Regions from separate parts of the Homo sapiens genome. Here regions 2, 3 and 4 are each linked to region 1. The links are contacts of gene promoters, found by promoter capture Hi-C in blood cells and fetal thymus (Javierre and others, 2016). All regions are on one chromosome and are shown on one strand. The core of a region is centred on a gene start or on the middle of the fragment in contact, and the rest is flanking DNA. Distances in the headings are between cores, read along the strand shown. Region 1 holds the start of MRPL3 (mitochondrial ribosomal protein L3). Region 2 overlaps NEK11 (NIMA related kinase 11). Region 3 overlaps NUDT16-DT (NUDT16 divergent transcript). Region 4 overlaps NEK11 (NIMA related kinase 11).

The links. The method cuts DNA at HindIII sites, captures the fragments that hold promoters and counts their contacts. A CHiCAGO score of 5 or more calls a contact.
Region 2: a contact is called between a fragment that was not itself captured here and the fragment with the promoter of MRPL3 in region 1, in 1 of 17 cell types (neutrophils). The highest score is 5.1, in neutrophils.
Region 3: a fragment that was not itself captured here is called in contact with the fragment with the promoter of MRPL3 in region 1 in 1 of 17 cell types (monocytes); the score reaches 7.9 in monocytes.
Region 4: a contact is called between a fragment that was not itself captured here and the fragment with the promoter of MRPL3 in region 1, in 1 of 17 cell types (monocytes). The highest score is 7.1, in monocytes.

The regions. Positions count from the first base shown.
Region 1 is chr3:131,501,721-131,508,430 of GRCh38, forward strand. MRPL3 (mitochondrial ribosomal protein L3) reads right to left here and starts at 1,251. Exons shown (of 10, transcript NM_007208.4): 1 at 1,010-1,251. The coding sequence starts at 1,101. It overlaps LOC105374114 (a long non-coding RNA gene), which reads left to right and starts at 879. Exons shown (of 3, transcript NR_189111.1): 1 at 879-984. RefSeq lists enhancers at 887-1,573, 1,080-1,149. The HindIII fragment of the contact is 1,488 bases long and covers 551-2,038 here.
Region 2 is chr3:131,253,961-131,261,364 of GRCh38, forward strand. The region is part of intron 16 of NEK11 (NIMA related kinase 11); the gene reads left to right. Among named protein-coding and RNA genes, the nearest start is that of NUDT16-DT, 120 kb to the right of the region's middle. The HindIII fragment of the contact is 3,184 bases long and covers 1,871-5,054 here.
Region 3 is chr3:131,363,879-131,370,522 of GRCh38, forward strand. The region is part of intron 2 of NUDT16-DT (NUDT16 divergent transcript); the gene reads right to left. It also overlaps the pseudogene NUDT16L2P. Among named protein-coding and RNA genes, the nearest start is that of NUDT16-DT, 14 kb to the right of the region's middle. The HindIII fragment of the contact is 2,124 bases long and covers 2,754-4,877 here.
Region 4 is chr3:131,345,519-131,352,381 of GRCh38, forward strand. NEK11 (NIMA related kinase 11) reads left to right here. Exons shown (of 18, transcript NM_024800.5): 18 at 4,039-4,947. The coding sequence ends at 4,258. All of the region lies in intron 2 of NUDT16-DT (NUDT16 divergent transcript), which reads right to left. Among named protein-coding and RNA genes, the nearest start is that of NUDT16-DT, 33 kb to the right of the region's middle. The HindIII fragment of the contact is 825 bases long and covers 4,476-5,300 here.

The sequences.
Region 1 (6,710 bases), core at 1-2,500:
AAAAGAAAAAATAAATAAAACCAAACCACAATTTAAAAACTTCCTCCACTTAATATAGAAAAGGGAAGTCACAAATTGGAAAGTGTAGTCAGGGCCTTGGGAAAGGGCTTGGATTCTGTATACCTTTTTTTCAGGTCTCCAACCTTTTCCTCACTCCCCACATTCCTTCGGATAAGGCTCACATTTAAACTGTTAGTCGTTACCCTGGAGAAAAAAATTCATCTTCTCCTCGCAGATAAACATATTCCCCAAAAAACAGTCCTACCTATAGACATGAAAAGCCACTAACCCATTTGGAAGTGTACCTTAATAGTTTTACATTCAGTGGAGGTGGCAGAAGGTGGCATGTTGATCTTTGTCTAACAAGCTCACCTCCTCCCTGCAATGACATGGCCTAGGTTCAGAGAAGTGAAGAAACTGGGTGTGCAAAGTTAAAAGATCCACAAAAGGCATGACCTCTGAACAGGTGAACATACCAAGAAAGACCTTAGTGGGCGGAGGTCAGGAAGAAGGGGTGTAATTCTTGCATGGAGGGTCAGAACAGAAGTAAAGCTTTCTGCAGTCTACTCTCCTTTTGTAGTCAGATAAATTCAGGCTAGATTCCTAATTTTCCACTTATTAGTTGAGTGACTTTGGGCAAATTAACTCACCTCCCTAACCTTCAGTTTTATCTGTAAACCTTATGATAGCAGTTTGCTCCCGTGAGGCTACATAAGGCACCTAATACACTTAGCAGAGCGCTTAGTACCTGGCAAACGCTCACTAATTGTAAGATATGATTGCTGTTAATAGCGTTCGCTGCTAGTGGCTGGCTCATAAGCGTTTTTTAAAAATCACCACTTCAATCCCCTTAGAACGTGCTTCCTTAGGTTAACGGCCCTTATTCTTCTGTGTCCCACGTCTCAACAGAGCCCCTTCCTCCTCCACCCAGGGGAGGCCCAACTGCACCAGGCCATTCCACTGCTTCAGGACGCAACTGTGCAGGTAGGACACCCTCACACCTTCCTACCTGTTCCCCGGGCCCAGGGCAGCACCCAGGCCGTCCCCGAGTCGACCCAGCACCTGGGCGCCGACCTGCGTCAGCAGCCTCCAACCCGGCATGGATTAGCCCGGGAAGACTCGACTCACGACTTCCGGGCGCCCTGCCGCTCTGCTTTCAGGGAGTCCCCACGCCACCGCCACGTGGACGCAGTAGCCGTGGGGAAGTTTTCGCAATGGCCGCCGGAACGGTCGCCGGCCGATGCTCTCTGCGACGGAAAGAAAGCCGCCGGACCCACTTCCGGTGCGTTTTACAATGAACTCCGGGCACTCGAGTCGCTCCCCGGAAACTATAGTTCTGCTTCCACCGTTGTCCTACTTTGGATGTGAGTTGGAGTAGGTAGGGGTGGGAAGGGACTGACTCGCCTCTCCAGGGGTAAAATAAAAGGGATGTTCAGAGTTTAAACTTTAGAAGAATAAGGACAGACTTCCTGAGGACGCTAAGGAAAATGAAGACACTTCTAAATAGTGCCCGTTGTGAGGCAATGCATTATGCTAAGCAGCGCTTCATAATCCTATATTTGTTAATCATAAAAAACGGTCCTGAAAGGAAGTATTTATTTTTCTATTATAAATGAGGAAACTGACTCAGAATTTAGGTGCTGGTCCAAAACAACACATCTGGCAGAGGAGCAGAGTTGGCACTGAAACAGGGTTGGCATGTGTTATCAATAGACTACACCCATAGAAATGATGTATGCCTTCTAGGGCTGGATCATAAAACATATTGTTACTTCAGTTTTTGTCTCTTGGATTGCTCCCTGTGGAGAAAGCTAGCCTTCATTTCCTGCAGACACTCAAACAGCTCTGCAGGGAGGAACATATAAAGAGGAATCAACTAGCCAGTCATGACTGAGCCACCTAGGAAGTGGATCCACCAGTCCTCGGCTGCAACTCATGGAGACGTTAAGCCTGAATCTCCCAGCCAGGCCGCTCATGAATTACTGACTAGGAGAAATTGCCAGAGAAAATAAATGATTACCGTTTTTTTGAGTCATTAAGCTTTAGGGTAATTTGTTATGCAATAATAGATAGCTAATACACCTGCACAAAAAATCCCCTGTCTTGGGTTCCAGATCTAGCCTAATAACCATGTATGTGACTAGGACATTTATTCTTCTACTAATTCCCTTATTTGTCAGATTACTGTTTGTAGAAATTTGGAAATAAGAACTTTAAAGTGTAGCTATTTCAACCTTCTCTTTTTACTAGAGATCTGGCTATCTTGGTTTAACAGGTCCAGACAATGGTCAATTCCTGGCCATTACTTGGACTTTAGTGGGCTAAAAAATCTTTGCTTTGCTTGTCCATTCATTCCACTCATTGCTGTTGCAGTTACCTTAGACACTTTTCAATAATACTTTGGACCTTGAAGGAAAAACTACATCTCTTCATTCTAGCCATGCTGCCTGGCTTCCCAGATACTTAAGGATGGCTCTTCATTGAACAAACATGTTTTGAGGTGTGCTACATGCAAGAAGTTGAGAATAAGAAGATTTCTGTACTACTGCCAATAACTAACATTTCTTATCCATATAGTGTGCTAGAGTATGTGCTCAGCATTGTGGAAGCCCATAAGCCAAGGCTACTAGAAGAAAACGTGAACTCATACAAAGTCAAGTTTAATTAGCTTGATGCAGCAAAAGACAGCATATGTCTGAGGATGTTTCCAAAAGAGTGACCTGGGAGGGGCTTGAAATGAAATTTGGACTTAAGGCTGAGTGATTTTAAAGTGGCATCAGAGAAGCAGGAACTTGTTTTAGAATGGGTGCTGTCAAGAAGAAAGGACAGTTCAGCAATTGGATATCTTGATAGTCTTTGTTCTAGAGACAGGAAGAACAGAGAGGAAGTGGGCATGATGTTCATAAGAAAGCAGGAATCACTCAGAATAAGGAACTGTTAGTCATTTTGCTGCAGTGGTGTGGCCTACAGTACGGTCTGTAAGAAATATTGTAATGATGGGCTGGGCGTGGTGGCTCAGCACTTTGGGATGCCAAGGCGGGTGGATCACGAGGTCAGGAGATTGAGACCATCCTGGCTGACATGGTGAAACCCCTTCTCTACTAAAAATACAAAAAAAAATTAGCCGGGCGTAGTGGCGGGTGCCTGTAGTCCCAGCTACTCAGGAGGCTGAGGCAGGAGAATGGTGTGAACCTGGGAGGCGCAGCTTGCAGTGAGCGAGATTGAGCCACTGCACTCCAGCCTGGGTGACAGAGCAAGACTCCGTCTCAAAAAAAAAAAAAAGAAATATTGTATTGATGTTCTGCTATAAACACTGCAGTCCAGTTACTAATAGTATTCATTTTTACTCTCTCAGTGTATTTTCTCACTTGATTGTTATGACAATCTGCTGTGACAATAGTATAATTATCTGGATCTTACAGTTAAGAAAATAGGCATACAGAGATTACATAACTTAAATAAAATCACCCAGCTATTAACTGGTAGAGCCAAAGACTGTGACCATAGATAGAGCTTATGCTTTTAGACATTTTGTTTCTTTGGCTCTCTATGACAAATATGTCACTACTCTTGCCTTGGAATTTCTTTAAGGCTAAAGAGGAAAATCGGTAAGTAATCACACGCAGTGGTCAGTGAGGATTGAAGAGGTAGCCATTTGGTCTAACCTTTTCCCATAGTACCAAATATCTCCTAGTCCATAAGGAGGACCTTGACAGCAGGCACCACCGCTGAACTGAATCAAAGTAAAACATGGTTTGTCTGCTGTCGTAAAAAATGTGTCTCCTGATTGCCAGCCAGGGCTGAGTGGTGTCATACTTGATTTAGTCACTGTAATATGCTGCTGACAGCTACTAGGCCCAGTTGTCAAGGGACCCAGCCTAGGCTTTTCTAGGGCAGTCAGGCACTGACCTAGAGCTTCCTGTTATTTCTGATGTCATCCTTCAGACACTGCCTTAGACCCTGAAACTGTAATGCCATTTTGCCTCTCTAAGATTTCAATTCCTTATTGGAACGAAGATAACTTGCACTTTCTCTTTTTAGTGGTACAGTTCTATAACTCTTACTCCGCTAATTCAGACCAACAGATGATCTCATAAACCTTCTCTTATTAAATAAAACATTAGGAATAGATTCATTTTTGAATTACTAAAGCCATGTTCAATACAAGAGAATCATCATAGAAGGAGCAGATTTCAAAGCAAGAGTTCACTGGAAATAATCTTTTATATGTGTTCCTGCCATTAGGCTCTACCATTAGCTCTTATAATGTTTGTGATATATCCTGTATAGTTGGATTATTGCAAGATGGTAAATTTTGTGTTGGGTAATTTCCACTTTAGTATTCATTTATGCTGTCTCTTAGTTTATAACATACCTTATATTTGAAATTAGAAATCTTTTAAACAATGAGTTTGGATTTACTAAGTTATCCTTTTTTTTCTCCATTTTTCTCAAGTTGTGAGAATCTAGCATATTTTAAAATCAGTAAAGATGTTATGAAAGTGAGTCAAGCATTCAATGGGGATATAGATAAAATAAACTTTAAGAGATTTTTGAACTTTAAGATTTCATTGCTGGCTGAAATAGAAAATTTGAAAGGCTGTATTGCAAAATCCACAGATACTCATTCAGTAAGAGAATGAATTCTGCTTCAATGTCCTTCAGTAAGGCCAAATCACAATTTGTAACTTTAATATATTGCTTTTAAAACATAATTTTTATTTGTAAATTCCCAAGTAAGCCCACAGACTTTAGGGTTCCAAGAGATGATCAGAATTAAAATTCATTTGGCTTGAAGAAAGCCTTAAAAAAATAGAAAAAAGCAGTATGGCCATGTAGTAATCTGGGTTTAAGGTTTCAAAACTTAATGTAATTATACCAATGTCCATTTTTTAAAGTTCTTTGATTACTTAGAAAAAATATTAGCAACAGACAATGTAGCATCACATGCCAGGGAACCAATGCTTTTCAAAAGGACATCTCTTCCTCCCTGGTCTTCCTCCCAATGCCAGTGTAGTTTTGATGGCCAGAGTATAGCTCCAAACCAGTGGATACTCTAGCCACCTAGAATCATAATCAGGATTACCCCTCTGAGCCTTACAGATACAGAATCTGGAGAAATTCTAAAGACTGAGTTCATTTAGGATTTTGATTCCACTTAGAGGAGGCCTAGGGATTCCCTGAAAAATGATAAATAACTAACATTTGCATTGCTTTTGCTAAGTGGCAGACACTGATCTATGTGCTTTCCATATATTAACTTATTTAATCCTCACCTGTGAAGTGGGTACTGTTAGTCTCAACCCCATTTTACAAATATGGAAACTGAGGCACAGAGACGATGAGCAGGTCATTCAAGTGCACAAACTTTACATTTGTTAAGTAAGTGGTGGAGACAGGAGTTGAGGCCAGGCAGGCTGTCTAGAGTCCAAGTGCTTAACTGATCTGCTGTACTGCCTCTGTCCTTAGAAGAGAAAGCTGCATAGCACATTATTGGAACACTCAGCTCAGCATCCAGAGGATGCCCCAGACCAACAAAGATTGATGATGATAGTGCTAAGCCTGCATCTTTAGGCGTCTCATCAGTCTAGATCAGAATCCGTCGGTCTCAAGAGAGAATGATGAGGCCGAACTGCTTGAGATATTCACCCATTCAATTCCTATGCAACCTCATTGGAGGCTTTTCAGAGCCCACGTGATGTTGAAAGCCTGTGATTCTCAACCCTGAATGTGTACAAGATTTACCTGGGAATCTTGCTAAAATGCGGAACCTGATTCATTAGGTCTAGGGTGGGATCTGAGAGTCTGCATTTCTAAGAAGCTCAAGATGATGTCAGTGCTGACCACATTTTGGGTAGCAGCATTCTAAAAATGGCTGTGAACTCAGAGCCAAGAGACTTGGGATTCAATCTCAGGTCTAAACTTAACTAGCAGTGCGACACAGAGTAAATCACTTCACCTCTCTGCCTGTTCATCTGTCCAGCTGAGGTCCCTTCTAGTCTTCTAAGTGAAAGTCCTTCTGGAAGGTAGAAAACAGTAGTTATATTATTCTTTCTTTTTTTTTTTTCTTTTTTGTAAAGATGGAGTCTCGCTCTGTCACCAGGCTGGAGTGCAGAGTCTCACTCTGTCACCAGGCTGGAGTGCAGTGGCGTGATCAAGGCTCACTGCAACCTCTGCCTCCTGGGTTCAAGCAATTGTCCGCCTCAGCATACCAAGTAGCTGAGTTTACAGGGGCCCGCCACCATGCCCGGCTAATTTTTGTATTTTTTTTTTTTTTAAGTAGAGACAGGTTTCACCATGTTGGCCAAGATGTTCTTGATCTCTTGACCTCGTGATCCACCTGCCTCAGCCTCCTAAAGTGCTGGGATTACAGGTGTGAGCCACTGCGCCCAGCCACAATAGTCACATTATTCTAAATGTTTACGTCCTAATTCTTGAAATCTGTAAATGTCCTTTATTACGTGACAAAAGGGACTTTGCAGATGTAATTAGAGTTTTGAACCTTGAGATGTGGAGATTATACTAGATTATCTGGGTGGGCCCAATGTAATTACATGAATCCTTAAAATCTGAGAACATTTCTGGCTGTGGTGAGAAATGTAACAATGGAGGAAGGGTAAGATAAATGCAATGTAAAAAGAATCAACCTAACAGTGTTTACCTGGAAGATGGAAGAAGGGGTCCACAAGCCAAGGAATGCAGTGACCTCT
Region 2 (7,404 bases), core at 2,213-4,712, 250 kb before region 1:
ATTACAAAGTCTTTTCCTTGCTACCTCCCCTTGCTACACATGGATCAAATGGAGCTGTCTGGCAAGGTAGCAGACATGTAGCATGTTCTCCGTAAGTTGTCACTAATCCTGAATCTGTTGCGTTCTTTGGAGTTTTAAAGAAGTTGTAGAAATTTAAATTTTTCATAAGACATAAATCTCTATAAGACATAAACAGAAGGGATAATGGAAAACAGATATTGTGTATCCACATCAAAATGATCCAAGTGGCTTATAATCCAGAATATCCCTTCTCTCTTCCAATGAAAGTGGTCGCAATGTGTCAGTAACCAAAGTAAAACAGTATGTTGAAATCTCTGTGAGACTAGCATGAGAAATTTTTTTCTGTCAAGGTGAAAAACACAATAGTGCAAGATTAACTGACTTTAAGTCATCACCACACTTAATGGCTTAAGAGTTTGAAGAGCTTAAGCAAGGGAAGTTTCTAAGGGATTCAGAAGCCCTGATGATTTCTCTGGTCTATATCAGTGTTATTGTTTAGCAGAGATTAAGGAATTATTACCAAAGTTCTATGGAAGAATTGAGGGGTAACAATTTTCAAACAGCAAAACTGATCAGACCTATTAACACATTAAAAGAATCTTAATGGGAAGTGAGGTTTTGGAGCATCTGTGAAATTCTAATTACTTCTGAAACAACATCCAGTTTGGATGTACAAAGCCTTTTTATAAATATAGTTTACCAAGGACATGTATAATTCTGCTGATAACTTTTCTCAGCTAGAAGTGCAGCTAATTTGGCTGGGCACAGTGGCTCACATCTGTAATCCCAGCACTTTGGGAGGCCAAGGTGGGTGGATCACCTGAGGTCAGGAGTTCAAGACCAGCCAGGCCAACATGGTGAAACCCCGTCTCTACTAAAAATACAAAAATTAGCCAGGCATTATGGCGGGTGCCTGTAATCCCAGCTTCTCAGAAGGCTGAGGCAGGAGAATCGCTTTAACCCAAGAGGTGGAGGTTGCAGCAAGCCAAGATCACACCACTGCACTCCAGACTGGGTGAGAAGAGCAAGACTCCATCTAAGAAAGAAAGAAAGAGAGAGAGAGAGAGAGAGACAGACAGACAGACAGACAGAAAGAAGGAAAGAAAGAAAGAAAGAAAGAAAGAAAGAAAGAAAGAAAGAAAGAAAGAGAGAAAGAACAGCTAATTTCCCAAACATTTAAGAATGTTAAAGTTTGTAGATTACCTTGGCTCATAATGTAGTTACTAAGATATGGAGACAGAATTTTCATTTCTAAGAAGTTCAAAGAAAATGAAGTTAGAGGTCATCTTCTGTCTTTCTTACTGAGCAATGATGATCCTAAACAGTTACTGTAGTAACATGTGATCTGTTATCTGAGTAGTAATAACACATACCCAGTTCTACATTTCAAGTCACTGCTTTCAAAGCACTCTCCTTGTTTGTTAAAGGTGACCTTTTCAGATCGTACTTTAAAAAAATAAAACAGTGGTATCCTAACCCACAGGATGAGATTCAAACTCCTAACCTGGCACACAAGATTTTTTTCTGGCCTTGGCCCTATACATCTAGGTTCATCAATCCCTTCCTCACACCTTACATTCCAGTAGCACCAAACTTCTTGATATTTCCATGAATATACTCAGTTGTTTCACACTTCTGAGCTTTCACACTGCTTGATCCTTTCTAGAGAATGCTTCCCCTCCCGACTGCTTGGCAGCTCTACTTCTATCTTTCTATTCATTCATTAAGTGATTATTGAAAAAAAAGTTGTATGCCATACTATGTGTTGGCCTCTGAGAATATTTCAGTGAACACAACCTTGCCCTGCCCTCACAAACACCAGAATTACAAACCTTCTACTTCTCTGTAAAGCTTTCCTTGGGTTGCCAACTGATTAGACCATGTCCAAATAAGGCAAATGCCCAGCTGTAACCAATAAAGCTGGTTCTATACCTCACTTCCATTTTCTATCGATAAATGCTGCTTGCCTGCAGAATAGAGTTCTCCAAACCTCTTGTGGTTCTGAGGGCTGTCCAATTCATAAATCATTCTTTGCTTAAATAAACAGTTAAATTTGTCTCCAAAGGCTGGGAAGGAGAGAAGAGAGGAAGATAAGAAGAGATTGGTCAATGAGTATAAAGTTAAAATTAGATAGGAGGAGTAAATTTCGGTATTCTATTGCACAGTTGGGTGACCGTGGTTAGCAATATCATATTGTACATTTCAAAATGGCTAGAAGAGAAGATTTTGGATGTTCTTACCACGATGAAATGATGAATGTATAAGGTGATGGATATGCTAAATACACTGATTTGATTTTTATACAATGTATACATTTATCTAAACACCACATTGTATCCCATAATTACATACAATAATTATGTGTCAATGAAAACAAAATTTAAAACATTTTTAAGAGATTTAAGAAATTAATTTGTTCAAAGTTAATCTTTTAACCCTAAGTTCTAAAAACTTACTCTAACATAGGTCTTCTACAAAGACTATGCACCAATATAGTGATTTCAAAACTGGTTTTAAGGTAAATGCAGAAATATTTTTTATGTATTTGTTTCTTATCCTGACCTACCATAAAAGCTCAATGCCTATATTGGTCCTCTATGGATGCATAACAAATTACTCAAAAACATATGGGCTGAAAACAATGATAATCATTTATTACCTCTCATAGTTGCTGTAGGTCATGAATTTAGGAGGGCGTAACTGGATGGTTCTGGCTCAGGGTCTCTCATGAGTTTGCAGTTAGCTATCACCCAGGGCCACAGTCATCTGAAGGCTTCACTGGGGCTGGAGATTGCATTTCCCAGATGACTCACACAGCTGGCCTCAGATCCCTTCCAAATTGGCCTTTCCACAGAGAATCTTGAGTGTCCTCAAGGATAATAATGTTAGATACTGGGCACAGTTTTTAGACTGACCAATATTGCTGCCTTGGGAACCTGGATGTGGCTGATGTTCCTACCGCAAACCTGCCTGGATGGACTTCATGTGGTCTCTGCTTCTTCTCATTATCAATTTTTTTTTAAGACAGGGTCTCACTCTATTGCCTGTGCTGGAGTACAGTGGCACAATCATGGCTCACTGCAGCCTTGACCTCCTGGGCTCAGGGTAATCCTCCCGCTTCAGCCTCTCATGCAGCAGGGACTACAGGCATGTGCCACTATGCCTGGCTAATTTTTTTTTTTTTTTGTATTTTTTGTAGAGATGGGGTTTTGCCATGTTGCTCAGGCTGGTCTTGAACCCCTGGGCTCAAGTGGTTCACCTGACTCAGCCTCCCAAAGTGCTGGGATTACAGATGTGAACTACCATGTCCAGCCAAATTCATCTTACTGGCAGAGGCTGGTCATATTTCTACACCCTAATTACATGGGAGACTGGTAAGTTAGTCTTCGGCATTCATGGCTTTAATGGGAGCCAGGCTCTGTCTCACAAAGTAAAAGATTCCCCTTACAAGGGAAATGAGAATGTAAGGCCAAAAATAACAAATATTTACTATATTAATGAGCTCCACTGTTGTAAGGATAGAATTTTAGGAATAACTAGAGATGTGAAAGGAGAGATGGCCCTTGCGGTGTCTTGTGGAAACATCTCCTCTTTTGGCTTTCATAGAAGCTAAGGAGTACATGATACCAGGTAATCATTTTTCAATTTATCTTCTGTTCTGCTGACGATAGTGAGAGCTACATGCTTCCCCCGCAATTGTCAGGATTCACATTCTAATGAAAAGTGAGAACGCATCCTGGTGGTAATGTAAACTAGTACAACCACTATGGAAAACAGTATGGAGATTCCTTAAAGAACTAAATGTAGAACTACCATTCAATCCAGCAATCTCACTACTGGGTATCTACCCAAAGGAAAAGAAGTCATTATATGAAAAAAGATACTTACACATGCATGTTTATAGCAGCGATTGCAAAAATATGGAACCAGCATAAATGTTCATCAACCAATGAGTAAAGAAAATGTGGTATATATATATATACACCATGGAACACTACTCATCCATAAAAAAGAACAAAATAATGGCATGCACAGCAACCTGGATAGAGTTAGAGGGGCCATTATTCTAAGTGAAGTAACTCAGGAATGGAAAACCAAACATCATATGTTCTCACTTATAAGTGGGAGCTAAGCTGTGGGGACACAAAGGCAGAATGATATAATGGACTCTGGGGACTCAGGGGGAAGGGTGGGAGGGGGTGAGGAATAAAAGACTACACATGGGGCACAGTACACACTGCTCTAGTGATGGGTGCACCCAAATCTCAGAAACCATCACTAAAGAACTTATCCATATAGCCAAAAACCACCTGTTCCCCAAAAACTATTGAAATAAAATAAAACAAAAATTTTAAAAACTTAAAAAAAGAGAAGGAAGTACTGCTGATACACTTTCCTTAAGTATTTGAATCAGTCTTGAAGCCAGATCAACCTCCTATTACAGAAAAGCAGGTTTTGTTTTTAAAGCTAAATTTCTTCATGTTGGCAGATAAGAATAATTAAACTCCCCAAACATTGGCTAGTGTCTCCACAGGGAAAGCACAAATGAAAAAGTTAGGGTCTGGCTTCCACAAATCTCATCTTAGCCTGTATCCACATTTAATTACTGAATGTCAATCCAAAAAACAGACACTTCGTCTCTTCCTTTTACTGGTAGCTACTGTTCTTAGAGGTTTTTCCTGGTGTATTCAAAAGGAAACAAGAATTTCCAAACTCCTTAACTCTTGTTGTTTTTAATCATCTATAAAATTCAGGTGAATATTTGCAGTGTGAAATAACCATAATAAAAATATTTTATTTTCTATCTTCTGGTATTTATCATATTTCCTATAAGTAGCAAGTTTGCTTTTCCCAAGTTGATCCACTTTTTCCCAACTATTTAATTTTGGTGTAGGCAGTGGAGTCCTATTGATACACTGAGAAGCTGCTCCATGCAAAGCATTGTGGTGGACATCATGGGGAGGTAGTGTAAATTTGCCTTGGGTCTTTTGTAGCAATAATGTACCTTTATATATAAGTTTAATATACATTTAAGCTTTACTAGAGCCATAGAAGATAGGATTCTTTTTTTTGTATCAATGAGGCAACTGAGTCACAGATTTTTACCTTTCCAAACATCACAGAATCAAGATTCAAACCCAAGTCCTCTAAGCCAGCTCACATACTTGTCCTAATATGCCCCAGCTCCCTTCCTACTGGAAAGCATTTGAGGTTGTTCTCTCCTAGACCATCTTCTTCCTTTTCCTCCTGTGCTTTTCTACTCCAGCATCCTAATGTGGTTTGGCATTGACACCGCTGATGCCACAGGGTTGACAACAACTTCTTTGGCAGTGGCTTCTGCCCTGTACCAATAAAATCAATTCTCTGAAAGAGCTGGGGATGGACAAGAAGTGGTAGGAATGGTCATGTCATTATTTCTAATACTGCTCTTATCAAATACCCAACTTATTAAAGGAACCAAGACAATAATCTCCATGCCCTCAACCTTATCCACTTCAACCTTTAGGCTGGGTTTTCTAGGAAGCCGTCTCTGACAGAGTTGAGTAGGCAGGACTTTTATGCATGAGTGCCCTTGGGATTGACCCTGTGGACAGAAGGAGAAGGATGCAGGATGAGGCAGAGGGAGAAGTTGAGCAGTGATGAAGGCCTGACAAGCCTTAGCCAAACCCTCAGAGAGCTCCAGTCCCATGGGTGTTGCCAGCAAAGGCCATAATGGTTAGGTTCTCTACCTCTACCATGATCAGTCATTAAAGGTTGCTACTTGGAGGGGCATGATTTGGGGGAAGGCAGCTTTCTGAGGCTGAAGAATTTCCTGAAGGGGCCACAGCTGGAGGCTGTCTACTCCCAACAGCTGGGGTAGCAAGTTCTTCCTTCAAGGAGGATCTGCATAGTGCATCTCCATTTCTGGGGTGTTGAGGTGTTGAGGTGAGGCAGTACAGAGACTACCCTGTTTTGCAGATTCTTCGACAGTTTTGTTGCCATTCTGATGTCCACTATTGTCACAGGAGAAGCTCAAGGAAAAATCTTCACCAAGTTTGTGTCAGCTAAGCCTCTCAGCAGAGTAGAGCAGCTTTCACAGTGCCCTGCTGATTCACAGCCCCTCATAATAAGTCATGGGGCTGTCATCTGGAGAGGTGGAGAAATGAGATGGAAGACATAATGATCACCCCAAATTTCAACCTTTTAGAGGGGAAGTTCTGTCTGATGATCTTATTTTTTTTTAATTATCACATGAAACTCGTTATTTGGTTGTGGCACTTCTATGGGATGTTAGAGCACTCATTTGGGAGTCAGGAAACCACAGTTCTAGTCTGGGCTCTGCCCCTTTCTATGACCTTGTGCAAGTCATAAAACCTCTCTTGGCCTGAGTCTTCACACCTGTAAGATGAAGAAATTTGACTTGAGGTGTTCTAGGGTCACATCCAGCTCAGAATCATGATGAATCTCTATCATTTAGGCCAGAGGTCAGCAAACTATGGCCTGCATTCCAAATCTGTCTCACTGCCTGTTTTTGTAAATAAAATGTTACTGGAACACAGCCATGCTCATTCATTTACCTATTGCCTATAGCTATTTTCATGCTACTGAAGCAGACTTGAGTTGCAACAGAAATTCTATGGTCTATAAAGTCTAGAATATTTACTACCCGCCCCTTTACAGATAAAGGTTTGCTGACCTTGATCTAGGCAAATCTTCTGTCATGTCGCATTCCAAGGAGTAGGAGGAGAAATATGAGCCATGAGGATATACTTTTGCAATAATTTGGCAAAGAGTGGTATCAGTCAAGTAACTGCTATTTCCTAAGTATTCCTTAGGAAATTCAGAGCAAGACGAGGGTTAAAGATTAGGTAAGAAGCATTCTAAATGTACAGTGCACCAAGGGCAGTGTCTGTGAGGATTCCTGAGTAAGCAATGTCTCAGGTGCTTAAGTGAGATCTTGTTTGCCAAAATATCCACCTCTGTGGTCCCTGCATCAGCTCTTTATTACCCACATGGCAGGGTGTTTAGCAGGGAGGGCAAACACAGCTTTTTCTTTTATGATCAAGGTCATTTGTCCAGCAACTGAAATGGGTAAAGGGAAATTTTAGAAGAAATTTTTCAAAGAAATGAGAGAAGAAACTCTCTGCTGGTGAAATGTCAGAATTATCAAGCTGTCACTCCTTCAGGGAAAATAACTTTGCTGGTGAGAGACCATAGAAGTAGGAGGAATCCTGACAATATTACTATTATGAGCTGTGCTTTGCACTTTTAGGAAACACAGCATCCAATTGCCAAATGTGTCTTCGTATCATTTTGTTTTCATCTCATTGTCAAAACATCCCCATGGGATATTGTCAAGTGTCATAATCCTCATCATTCTATATTTCACAGATGAGAAGAGAG
Region 3 (6,644 bases), core at 2,566-5,065, 140 kb before region 1:
CTTTGCAGAGAGCTTCTACAGCAAGGCTGAGTCCTTCCCACAGTCCTCCATGCCTGCTCTTTAGGGTCTACCCCAGCCCATGTTTTTTGGGAAGGATAGAGAAGCAGAGGACCCTCTTTGCTTTCCTGAAAGTAGCCATGCCCTTGCTGGAGGGTTCACCACAGCAATTGGTGGGAAAGGGTCTTAACCAATCTCCAACACTTTTCTTCTCCTGAAACTGAGAAGGGGTAAGGAAGTAGCTAGGTCCCCTTGGACGGAGCATGGACATGAGACCTGTGAGTACTGGTGTCTCTCCTTCAGAGCTTTCATCTTTGGTTCGCTGTAGACTCTGGGACTATCAGAAGAGAACTGACCCATACCTGTCTAGCCCTGCCCTTCCAAAAAAAGAGCCTCCCATTAAAGAGGAGTTAGAGCTGGGCCTTGAGGCTCTTCACTTCTTTCAACAGATATTTAATATGTACCTACTAAATGCCAGGTACTATAAAAGGTATAGAGAGCCATCCTTGCTCTCCAAGACTCCAGGGAAGGGATGGGCAAACATTTTCTTAAAAGCCAGATAGCAAATACTTTAAGCTTTGTAAACTACATAGTTTTTTAAAAAATATTTTCTAACATTGACTAATAAAAATTGCCTATGTTTACTGTGTACAAAATGATGCTTTCAAATATGTATACATTGTGGCGTGGCTAAATTGAGCTAATTAACATATGCATTACCTCACATATTTATCATCTTTCATGGTAAGAACACAAAATTTACTCTTAGCAATTTTCACAAATTAATGCAGTTTATTAACTATAGTCACCATTTGTGCAACAGATCTTTTGAACTTATTTCTCCTAACTGAAGTTTTATATTCTTCGATCAATATCTTCTCAATTACTGTTCCCTACCCCCAACCCCTAGTAACCATTATTTTACTCTCTGTTTCTATGTGTTTAACTTTTTTAGATGCCATATATAAGTGAAATCATGTGGTATTTTCACCTGGCTTATTTCATTTAACATGTCATCTAGGTTAATCCATGTTGTCACAAATGACAGAATTTTCTTCTATTTTAAGGCCAAATAGTATTCCATTGTGTATATATACCACATTTTCTTTATCTGTTTATCTGTTGATGGACACTTAGGTTGATTCCACATCTTGGCTATTGTGAATAGTGTTGCAGTGAACATGGGAGTGCAGCTATCTCTCCAGATCCTAATTTCAATTACTTTGAATAAATACCCTGTAATGGGATTCCTGGACCATATAGTAGTTCTTTATTTTTAAATATCTCCATGCTGTTTTCCATGATGACCATACTAATGTACATTTCCACCAATATTGTGTAAGCATTCCCTTTTCATATTTTCTCTAATACTTACCTTTCATCTTTTTAATCATAGCCATTCTAACAGATATGGGGTGATATTCCATAGTGGTTTTGATTTTCATTTCCCTAATAATTAGTGATGTTGAGCATTTTTTCATACACCTATTTGCCTTTCTTTGAGAAATGTCTATTCAGGTCATCTGCCTCATTTTTAATTGGGTTATGTGTTTTCTTGCTATTGAGTTGTTCATGTTCCTTATATATTTTGGCTATTAACCTCTCATCAGTTGTGTGATTTGAAGTTATTTTTTCCCATTCTATAGATTGTCCCTTTACTGTGTTGACTGTTTCCTGTGCTGTGCAGAAAGTTTTAGTTTGACATAATCCCATTTGTCTATTCTTGTTGTTGTTGCCTGTGCTTTTGAAGTCTTATCCAAAAAAATCATTGTCCAGACCAATGTCATGGAGCTTTTCCCCTGTTTTCTGTAGCTTTACAGTTTCAGGTCTTGCATTTAAGTCTTTAATCTATTTTGAGTTTATTTTTTATATGGTATGAGATAAGGTTCTAATTTTATTCTTCTGCACAGAAATATGCAGTTGTCCCAACACCATTTATTGAAGGGATTATCTTTTCCTCATTGTGTATTCTTACCCTCTGTGGAAAATCAATTGACCATAAATGTGTGGATTTATTTCCAAGATCTCTATTCTGTTCCATTGGTCTGTGTGTCTGTTTTTATGACAGTACCATGCCGTTTTGGTTACTATAGCTTTATGATATATTGTGAAGTCAAGCAATGTGATACCTCTAGCTTTGTTGTTTTGGTTAAGATTTTTTGGCTAGTCAAGGTTTTTTTGTAGTTTCATATGAATCTTTGAATTGCTTTTCTATTTCTTTGAAAAAAGTCATTGGAATTTTGATAGGGATTGCATTGAATCTGCAGATTGCTTTGAGTAATATGGACATTTTAACAACATAAATTCTTCCAGTTCATTAACAAGGGATTTGTTTTCATTTATTTGTTGGGCCATTTATTTGTGTCTTCTTCAATTCCTTTTTTTTTTTTTGAGACAGAGTCTCACTTTGTCGCCCAGGATTGAGTGCAGTGGCACCATCTTGGCTCACTGTAACCTCCTCCCAGGTTCAAGCAAGTCTCCTGCCTCAGCTTCCTGAGTAGCTGGAACTACAGGCATGCACCATCATGCCCAACTAATTTTTGTATTTTTACTAGAGATGGGGTTTTGCCATGTTGGCCAGGCTGGTCTCCAACTTCTGACCTCAGGTGATCCACCCACCTTGGCCTCCCAGAGTGCTGGGATTATAGGCATGAGCCACCCCACCTGGCTTTCAAGGTCTTGGAAGACCTACCAAGTCTGGGTAGGACTTCCAGTACTGTGTTGCATCCTTCTCTTATTTATAATCTTAGAGGAAAAGCTTTCAACTTTTTACCATTGAGTATGATGTCAGCTGTGTGTGGGTCATATATGGCCTTTATTATGCTGAGGTACATTTCTTCTATACCTAATGTGTTGAGAGTTTTTATCATGAAAGGATGTTAAATTTTATCAGATGTATCTATTGGGATGATTACATGTTTTTTATCCATTCTGTTAATAGGATGAATCACATTGATTTGCATTTGTTGACAAGGTCTATCCTTGCATCCCAGGAATAAATCCCATTTGATCAGGGTGACTGATCCTTTTCGTGTGCTGTTGAATTCAGTTTGCTAGCATTTTTTGTTTGAGATTTTTGCATCTGTGTTCATCAGGCATATTGACCTATAGTTTCCTTTTCCTGTAGTGTCTTTGGCTTTAGCATCAGGGTAATGCTGGCCTCATAAAATGAATTTGGAAGTATTTACTCTTCTTCAGTTTTTTGAAGAATTTGAGAGGAATTGTTCTTTAAATTTTTGGTAGAATTCAGCAATGAAACCATCAGGTCCTAGGCTTTTCTTTTATGGGAAAGCATTTCTTATTAATGCATCTACGTGTTATTGGTCTGATTAGATTTTATTTTTCTTCATGATTCCGTATTGGTAGAATTATGTGTGTCTAGGAATTTATCTGTTTCTTCTAGGTTATTCAATTTGTTGGCATATACTTGTTTACAGTAGCCTCTGGTGGTCTTTTGCATTTCTGTAGTATCAGTTCTGATGTTTCCTCTTTATTTTATTTGAATCATCTCTTTTTTCTTAGTCTTGATAAAGGTTTGTGAATTTTGTTTATCTTTTCAAAAAGCCAACTTCTTAGTCTCATTGACCTATTGTTTTTCTAGTCTCTATTTCATTCATTTCTACTCTGATCTTTATTATTTTCTTTTTCTAACTTTAGGCTTAGTTTGTTCTTTAGGCTTAGTTTGTTCTTAGTTTGTTCTAGTTCCTTGAGGTGTACTCTTAGGTTATTTATTTAGGTCATTTTTCTTTTCAATGTTAGTGTTTAATCCCATAAACTTCCCTCTTAGACCTGATTTTGCTGCATCACATAGGTTTTGGTATGTTGTGTCCCCATTTTTATTTATCTTAAGGTAATTTTTAATTTCCCTTTTAATATCTTCTTTGACCCATTGATTGTTCAGGAGCATGTTGTTTCATTTCCATGTATTTGTGAATTTTCTGAAATTCCTCCTGTTATTGATTTCCAGTTTTATGCCATTGTGGTTGGAAAATATACTTGATATGATTTTAATATCACTAAATTTGTTAAGTCTGATGTTTTATTTACTTTTTTTCTGTATGATTTGTCCATTGCTGAAAGTGGGGTATTAAAGTCTTCTACTATTATTGTATTACAGTCTGTCTCTCTCTTGAGATTTATTCATATTTGCTTTATATATTTAGGTGCTCTGATGTTGGGTGCATACGTATTTATAATTGTTATATCCTTTTAATGAATTGACCTCTTTCTGGTTATATAAAGATCTTCTTTTGTCTCTTTTCAGTTTTTGACTTTAAGTCTATTTGAAGTAATTATATCTACATATAGATATGTAGATTTCCCTTAATCTCTTTTAGTTTCCACTTGCATGGAATATTTTTTTAGACTCCATTTCTTGATGGGGGCGATGAGGAATAGGGCAGAGGACTAGCAAATAACTGGTAGTCAACTTTAACCTACTAAAGTATGGTCTATAAATGGAAAAGGCCATGTGGGCACACCAGAGTAAGAGGAGATCAAGGTGGAGATGTAGGTGGGAGTCTGATGAGATAGGACCTCACAGGCCATGTGAGGGGCTTGGAGTATGCTTTGGGGAAGTCACTCCTGATGTTGTGTGGAACACGGACTGGAAGGGCTAGTAGAGGAAGGAGGAGACAGAGGGAGCTGCCACATAGCTACATGGCAGATGGTGGTGATCTGGAGCAGGGAGGGGCAGTGGAGATGGGCAGAAAGGATGTGATTGCGTGAGATATTGGTGGTGGCATTGACAAGACCTACTGATGGACTGGTTGTGGGAGGAAGGGAGTAAGGAAGAAAGAAGATTCAAAGATGACTTTTATGTTTGTGTCTTAAGGCGTTGATATTGAGGATGTAGGGAAAGCCTGGTGGGTGGGGGAATAAGCTTTTGAAAGAGACAGGATCAAGGAAGACATTCTGGGCAGGTTAAGACAAATTTGTGATTTGTCTGCATAAAGGTGATAGAAAAACTTAGACTGGGTGAGGTGATCCATAAAGAGAGAAAAAGAGTGCTCAGGACAAGGCCCTGAGGAAGCCCAACCCCCAGAGTTTGGGCAGAGGGACAGGGCATGTAAAAGGAGAAGAGGAGGAGAGAAAGCTGCTTTTAGAAAGTAGACTATGCAGAGTGCTTGTGAGGGTTTAGGTAGAACGGAGGCAGAACTGTACACTGAATTCAGTAATATGAGGGTTTGATGACCGTGATGGCAACAATTTCAAAAAGGGTGGCATAGAGGACAGACTCAATTGGTTGAGTGAATGGAAAATGAGGGAGCAGAAGGTAGGACAAGCTGGCCCTAAAGGGGCTTAGGGTGATCACTAGAGAGGGCTGTCGGGTCAGGGAGTGTTTAAGGTGGGAGACAGGGCATGTGGATGTTGATGGCAACAGTTAAGATGGCAAGAGGAAACAGATGGGAGGGTGATCAGGAGGAGGACCCCTGAAGAGGCATCGTCCATGAGAAAAAAGGAGGGATGGGACCTTTGTAGGAGGAGGGACAGGCCTGCAGCGTAACAGGGCTCAAGGAAAACAGGAATGAGGCACGCATAGAGGATTATGATGGCTAAATTGATGGGAAGATGATAGAATTTGAATCTCTTCTTGGTGAAATGAAGTGAGACTATCAGCTAGCTGTGGGTGGAGCATGTTCTCAGAAGGTATGAAGTAAACATTCACTTTGGTGTGAAAAAGCAAGTTAAGGAAACAGCAGAAGGGCAGAGCAAGGCTGAGCTCTGAGATGCTCAGTTTAGAGTAGGATGCTGGGCACTCAGGTGTGTGTGTGTTGAGTGGGGATCTGCATGCACCTGTCTTCCCCCAATTAGGATTCAGGATCTGGGATGGAGATGCTTACTGCAGTGTTGGGGTTTTGCCAGGGGAGTATAGGAGGTGAGAGAAAGATGGGGCAGTTCAGATGACATGCACAGGAGAAACTGTAGTGATGAAATGTGTGGTCTGAGGATTAATCTGACCAAGATGGAAATTGAAAACTGGAGGTGACTAGGGAGGGATTAGGAAATTAGAGGTCTTGACGAGGTAGAAACTCCAGCATGGTGAGGGGCTGGGTGGGGAGGTGTATTTGAGCCAGACAGGAGTGCTTTGGAAATTGAGAGGTGGAGCAATCTCAGGAAAAGGCAGTCAAGGGTATGACCTGGAGTTGCTGGCCAGAGCCAGAGGAAGAGGCTTAAGAGGTGAGATCTGGGGTTAGCCAGACTAGAGGGCAGATGTTGGGGAGGATAGTGTGACCTAGAAGCCAGTGTCCTTGGTGAACCACAAGGCCAGTGGCACCTGCCAGAGGGGAAAACAAGCATGACAGGATAGTGCCTTCCAGGCAAGGGCCTTTTGAGGAAGGGAGGGTAAGCAGTGGTCTGGAAACTAAATGCAGAGCAATGTGGTTCCCACTGGCAGCCCTTGGTCTTGGGAAAATGGGAGTGGCTGGTGGGGGAACAGCTGTACAGATTAGGTAGATAGATAGACTCCTGGTGGGGTAAATTACCTTCTTCTCCTTAATGTCACCATGACCCCTTTGTCAAACGTTATCTAGATTAAACCTCAGTATAGGCAGGCTGCAGGAAATGGACATTCCAGTGGCTCCCGGGGTCCCAGCCTGCAGCAGCTTCATCTGTGCTTTGTGCACTTGGCTCTCAGTTATCTCTGC
Region 4 (6,863 bases), core at 3,638-6,137, 150 kb before region 1:
TATCAAAAAGAAGAAATAACAAATGTTGGTGTGGAGAAAAGAGAACCCTAATATATACTGCTGGGGGACAGTAGACTGGTACAGCCACTATGGAAAACAATATAGAGGTTCCTAAAGAAATTAAAAGTATAACTACCAATGACCCAGCAATCCCTCTTCTGGGTATATACCCAAAGGAGAAGAAAATACCACCCCATAAAGATATCTCCCATGTTCATTCCAACATTGTTCACAATAGCCAAGATATGGAAACAATCTAAATGTCTATCAATGGAGAAGTGGATAAAGAAAGTGTGGCATATATATACAATGGAATATTATTCAGCCTTATAAAAGGATATCCTGTCATTTGCCATAACATGGATAGACCTGGAGGACATTACGCTAAGTGAAAAATAGCCAGACATAGGAATAAAAATATTGCATGACCTCAATTATATATGGAATATTTAAAAAAAAAAAGAGCTCAAGTACACAGAGATAGAGAATGAAACAACGGTTACCTCAGGCAGGGTTGGTAGGGGAGAGGAAATGAGGGAATGTAGGTCAAAGGATACAAAACAGTAGATACGTAGGATGGACAAGTCTAGAGATCTAATGTCAATATGAGGACTAAAATTAATAAAATTATATTGTATTGGGAATTTTTGTTAAATAAGTAGATTTTAGCTGTTCTTGTCATAAAAAAGTAACTATGTGAGGTCATAGATATATTAATCTGCTTCACTATAGTAACCATTTTATTATCTATATGTATCCCAAAACATCATGTTGTAAACCTCAAATATACACAATAAAATTTAAAAATCAAAAATAAAATATTTTTTAAAAGAATAAAGGAAAACATTTGAAGTAGTCATTTTGGGAGGAAAATAAACATACTGGGGAAACACGGTAAGATTGCTGGGCAGTGCTGAGTGCCATTCTGAATCAAGATTATCATCTTAAATGAGAGACTTGGTATATTTGGATGCTTTTCTCCATAAATATTCTCTTGTTTGGGTACAGCCATGGAGTAGGTATACGACTGAGTTTAACCATTAGGTCTTTGCCAAACAAAGGGAAAGGGGTGGAAAAAGTCAAAGGTATTTGCGAGATAATGGTTATGATGATGGGCCATGAAATTAACTGTGAGGAGGTAGGTGAGGAGTGAGTATATGAGGTTACAAAAGAAGTGAGTAATTATTATCATGGGGGTAGAGTCGAAGTGAAGGGCACCATGAAGTGGAAGATTAGCTGGTAAGTATGGTGGGAGGGCATTGAGGGGGTGATTAGAGAGTAGGAGGCTTGAAATCAATTTCAGAGGTCATGTAGTCATTGGCACTGATGAGGTCAATTGATATGATCATGGGAATGGGCAACTCAGGTAGGGTAAAAGAAATGATGGCTGAATGCGAGGCAGTTCAAAACCAGAGACAGCAAGAATACAGAAGTTAAGAATGATGACAAGAGTACAAGGTGGAAGAAAGAGTGGGCTAGTCACTGAAGTAATCAGTGTATGAAGAGAATGACCAGGGTTTGGTAGATGTCAGCAAAAGAAACACCTGGATTTTGTGGGGGTGACTGAGGTGACTAGGGATGTTAGGCATGCTGGAATCAGTCCTGACAATCTCATGACAGAAGGTGGGAAACTTATTGTGGAGCCTAGGGCTGCTGGTTTCTCCAGCATCTGGTGTTTTAAGATCAGCATTTGAGTCCAAACTCTACCACACTAACTGTGTGAGCTTGTGAAAGGCTACGAAAAACCTGCTTATTCTCATCTGTAAAATGAAGACAAATGTTCAATGAATTGCCTAGTTCATAAGGAGCATTTGAAATAATGAATGCAAAAGCACTTTGCAAGCTCTAAAGGGCTATAGAAATGTTAGTTAAAATTAAAAATTTATGTCTTGCATTGTCATGACCAGCCTTTAAACCAGAGCTAGAAGAATTACCTATTCATCTCTTTATCGGCCACAATACGTAACACATATCCTATGATTTAGAGATTACAAGCTTGAATAACACTGAACAATAAAAGCTTATAAAATGAATGAGTCTGTGACTAATGTCTCCAATGTTATTATCAACATTACCATCATTACTGTTAAGCATTAATGCTTCAAAAATTGTGAAAAAAGGCCGGACACGGTGGCTCACACCTGTAATCCCAGCACTTTGGGAGGCCAAGGTGGGCCTGTAATGCCAGCACTTTGGGATCACCTGAGGTCAGGAATTCGAGACCAGCCTGGCCAACATGGTGAAATCCCATCTCTACCAATATTACAAAAATTAGCCAGGCGTGGTGGCAGGCACCTGTAATCCCAGCTACTCGGGAGGCTGAGGCAGGAGAATCGCTTGAACCTGGGAGGCAGAGGATGCAGTGAGCTGAGATCACACCAGTGCAGAGACTTCATCTCCAAAAAAAAAAAATACACATCCTGGTTTTTCTTTTTACCAAATCCATTGAAATGAAGAAAAAGTAATATTTCTTCAAGTTAAAGTCACACAAATATTTATACACTTTGACCTAATAATCTCATTCCCATAACATTTTTATCATTTAATCAAGCACAACATATATTTACTCTTTTCTCTGTTCTTCAGAGAAAAGTGCAGAAACCATAAGTACACATATAAATTTTTAGAGTGAACACACACATAATAGCCCAACTCCTAAAAATTTGATGTCATAAAATATTCCCCTAAAATGTAAAAGCCTAATATCTAAAGATGAGGTATTCACACTATGTTATAGTGCAAAGGAGCAAAAAAAAGCTCATTGTTTGGTGAAGGGAAAATGGAGTAAATATTGGCACATAAATTCAGTGGAACAATATGGAGCCATTAAAAACGACAACCGTGAAGAACCGCAAAACAAAATCCACCAACTTGAATGCCCTTGAGTTAAGTGGGTAGAAGAACTATGAGAAGGAGCCTGGTATAAGATGATAAAAGATAGGGGAGGTAGGTCAAAGACGGTCAGAAAATGCAGAGTACAGAGTGCTTGCAGGCCCCACATAAAGACATTCACATTAAAACATTTAAAAATAATAAAGGAAGATAAAACATGGTATTGAAAAACAAAACATGTTATGGACCAAATGTTGCCCATAGGTCTTTAGTTTGTGACCCTTTCTGGAGATAGAGGAAAATAGTCAACGGTGAAATAAACATACTAGATATGGCAATATGATTATAACATAAAGATTATGTTGACATATGGACAATCACTGGAAGTGTGGAAAAAATGAATGTCGGCCTTGGTGGAAACTTGGCCAAATAACTTTACCCCTTTTAAGCCTCAGTTTCTTCATCTGTAAAATAGGGATTTAAAAAATTGCCTCCTTCGTACAGCTGTTGTAAAGGTTAAGTGTGATTGAAAGGGCAAAGTGAGTAGAAAAGGACCTGGCAAGTGGCAAACAAAACTATTCTCCCCCTCATTTTCCTCCTCCTCCTCCTCATTATTATTTTGTTATTATTAACTATTTCTGCATTTTATATCCCACCATCCTGTTTCCCTTTGTTCTACTAACTCCAGCCACAATAGCTTTCTTGTTATTTTTCCAATATGTTTTAGCCTTAGGGCCAAAATTCTTTTGCCCCTAGTATTTGTCTTACTTCCTGAGAGCTTTTGCTCAAATGACACTTCCTCAGAAGGATTTTCCTGTCCGCCTCACCCTGCTTTTTCTTCATTGCACTTAGAACCATCTGATATCTTATGTGTATATGTGTATATATACATACGTTTATATAAACACATCTGTGTGTATATCTGTGTATTATATATATATACACACACAAGGGCAGGACTTTGCCTAACTTGTTTACTGCTATATTCCCAGTTCCTTGAAGGGTACCTGGCACATAATAGACATTGAGGCATTATTTGTTGAATACTGTTAAATGTTTAGGGTGGAGATATTGTGCCTTTTCTTCCCCCTTTTTTTCTAAATCCCAGAATGACAATGTTTGTAAAATCAATGATTTAAAAGCACATTTTCCTGCAGGTGATCTTAATGTGTAACTCTTTGTAATCTTTTGTAACTTTTTTGACAGATCAGCCATGCAGAAGCTGGGGACAGAAGTATTTGAAGAGGTCTATAATTACCTCAAGAGAGCAAGGCATCAGAATGCTAGCGAAGCAGAGATCCGCGAGTGTTTGGAAAAAGTGGTGCCTCAAGCCAGCGACTGTTTTGAAGTGGACCAGCTCCTGTACTTTGAAGAGCAGTTGCTGATCACGATGGGAAAAGAACCTACTCTCCAGAACCATCTCTAGGCAACTATCAAAAAGAAGCAGAAGTTCAAGTGGACAAATTTATGTGAAAATTCATTTAACATATAAGCTGAACTCTATTATGGGGAATGGATACAAAAGCAGAGCTCCCATCTTGACTTTCAATTCCTCATCAGAAGTACTGGCTTCTTTAGAGAGTAGTAAGCATGGCTGCCTATGCTTGGAGTCATAAGTGTTATTTGGACTATACCCTGAGATAAGCTTATAGATCAAGTTTGGCTCCCTTGAAAAGCATTTCTCTCATGTGCGCCCTCAGGGCTTCCAGCAGGATTGAGTCACCCTGACGATGACCGGGGAGAAGCCGTGTGCTCTTCATTATTTTCAGCTGGAGGACAGAGCTCAGTGCCTGACTGCCTAGGGTCTCATGGACTGTAGGCAGCCTGCCAGTGAAGGTCACTGGACTCTAGCCTACAACATGCTGAGCTACAGCCCAGAAGCCAGACATGCCTGTCTTAGCTGACCTGTTTTTGGTCCACTTTTGCCCTTCCATGACTAATAAGGAAGATATGTGTGTATTTCATACACACACAAGGACCTGGATTAAAAATCCAAAAAGTGATTCTCTTCTATGATTTATTTCAAACTCATCCATAGATAATTCAAGATTTGTATTCAAAATAAACATAGTTTTCACAGTTACAAAATAAATCACCTATTTTATCTTTTCCTTATGTAAAACTTTCTTATTGAATGTAACATATCCATCCTTTGATAATTATTACTTAGAGCCAGTAATATTTGGTTAATTTGGTGCCTGTTGGGTACTAGTACTGTGCTTAGTAGTTTAAGGGCCTTCATTGGATCTTTTCACTAACTTGAGAGAGATAGAGTGAAAGAGAGAGAAAGAGAGAGAGAGAGACAACAGAGAAAGAGAGATGCTCAGGTTAGGTAATTTGCTTAGTCACTCAGCTGCAAGAAGCAGAGTTGGCATTTGAAACTAGGTCTGTCGCATTCCAGAATCCATACTCTTAACCAGTGTCTATCAGAATTTTCAACCATGGAACTATATTAGATTTGCTTGTGAAGCTTTTTAAACATAGACACATTTAAATATACTGTTAATGAAAAAATTATTGACACTTATTGAAATGGCAAAAAGACTGTAATCAGGACTATTTTGATAGGTATCAACAATATTGCAATATGGGAGAGGCATTGGGCTCAACTCTGAAGTTTCTTTGCTGAAGCAAAGAAAACTAGAGATTAATAGCCAATTAGCAGGATACGGGCCTTGGTGGATGGAAAATTTCTAAAAGGAGTATTCAAAGGTTGGGGGTTGTATTCATCTGTTTAGTGTTGCCATAAAAGAATACCAGAAGCTGAGTAATTTATAAAGAAAAGAAGTTTATGTAGCTCACGGTTTTGTAGGCTGAGAAGTTCAACGGCATGGCCCTGGCTTCTGGCAAAAGCTGTTGTGTTCCATCACAACACGGCAATGAAGGGGAAGTGGACAAGTAGGAAGACAGAGAAACCTGAGGGGTGTCCTGGCATTATAACACCCACCCTTTGGGGAAATAATCCATTCCTTCAAGAAACAATCCAGCCTAGAGAGCAAGAACTCCAGAGCAGTAGCAAGCTATTTTTCAGGGTGCTCCCCCATAATCCAAACATTTTCCACTAGGCCCCACCTCCCAACATCACCACTTTGGGGATCAAATTTCAACATAAGTTTTGGAGCAGGCAAATATTCACACCATAGCAGGGAGATTCCTGCTAAACTGACTTAAGATTCCCACTGGAGGAAGGCCAGGGTCATCAGAGATTGAGGGCAGGTGATGAGGAATTTGATCAGATACTGAGGGTGATCAGCTATCAAATGTGGGGTATTCTCAATAAACTGACTTTACCAGAATTCTTGCTAAAACTGGGTTTGGCAGGCTGAAGACAGAGCCAAGAATGAGGCCTCATAAAAAAGAGGGCTCAAAAGAGCCTGTCTAAAGTTTGGTCGAGGAGATAATCTTTGTCAATACCAAGACCCACCCCACTCCCTTCTCTGGGAAGACAAGGGGCTAAAACATATCTATTGTTTCAGAACTGTCTGGGTGAATTTGATGCCCACAGTACTGTTATTCACTTTTCAGCCTCCTGCTGATGACTGAGGAAACTAAGAGAGTTTCTTTATCTTACTAACTTGTTTTCAGTGGTGCTGTGCTTCCTGCATGATGCACTCTTTTAGACCAGTGATTCCCACATTTGAGCATGCATTCGAATCACCTGGAGTGCTTGTTGAAGCATAGATTGGTGGATTCCATCACCAGCATTTCTGATTCAAGAGATCACGGTTTCTAACATGTTTCCAGGTGGTGCCAGTGCCACTGGTACCACACAGAACAATTGTTCAAGACCTTTCTTTCTGTTGTCTCTCTTCTCCCCCTCCCTCTTTTTGGAACAGTGTTTTGGCTGCTCTTAATTGGGGGCTTAATTAATCTCACATCTTGGAAGGTGGTATGAGGACTTCCAAGAAGGGTCCAAAGACTTCAAATGCTTCACAGTGAATATAAGCAAGTAGTGACTGGGGTGGAGTGGTAGGTGAGTCAGTGTGAATAACTTGAGAGAACTTAATGGGCTTATTTTAAGGACAAAGGGG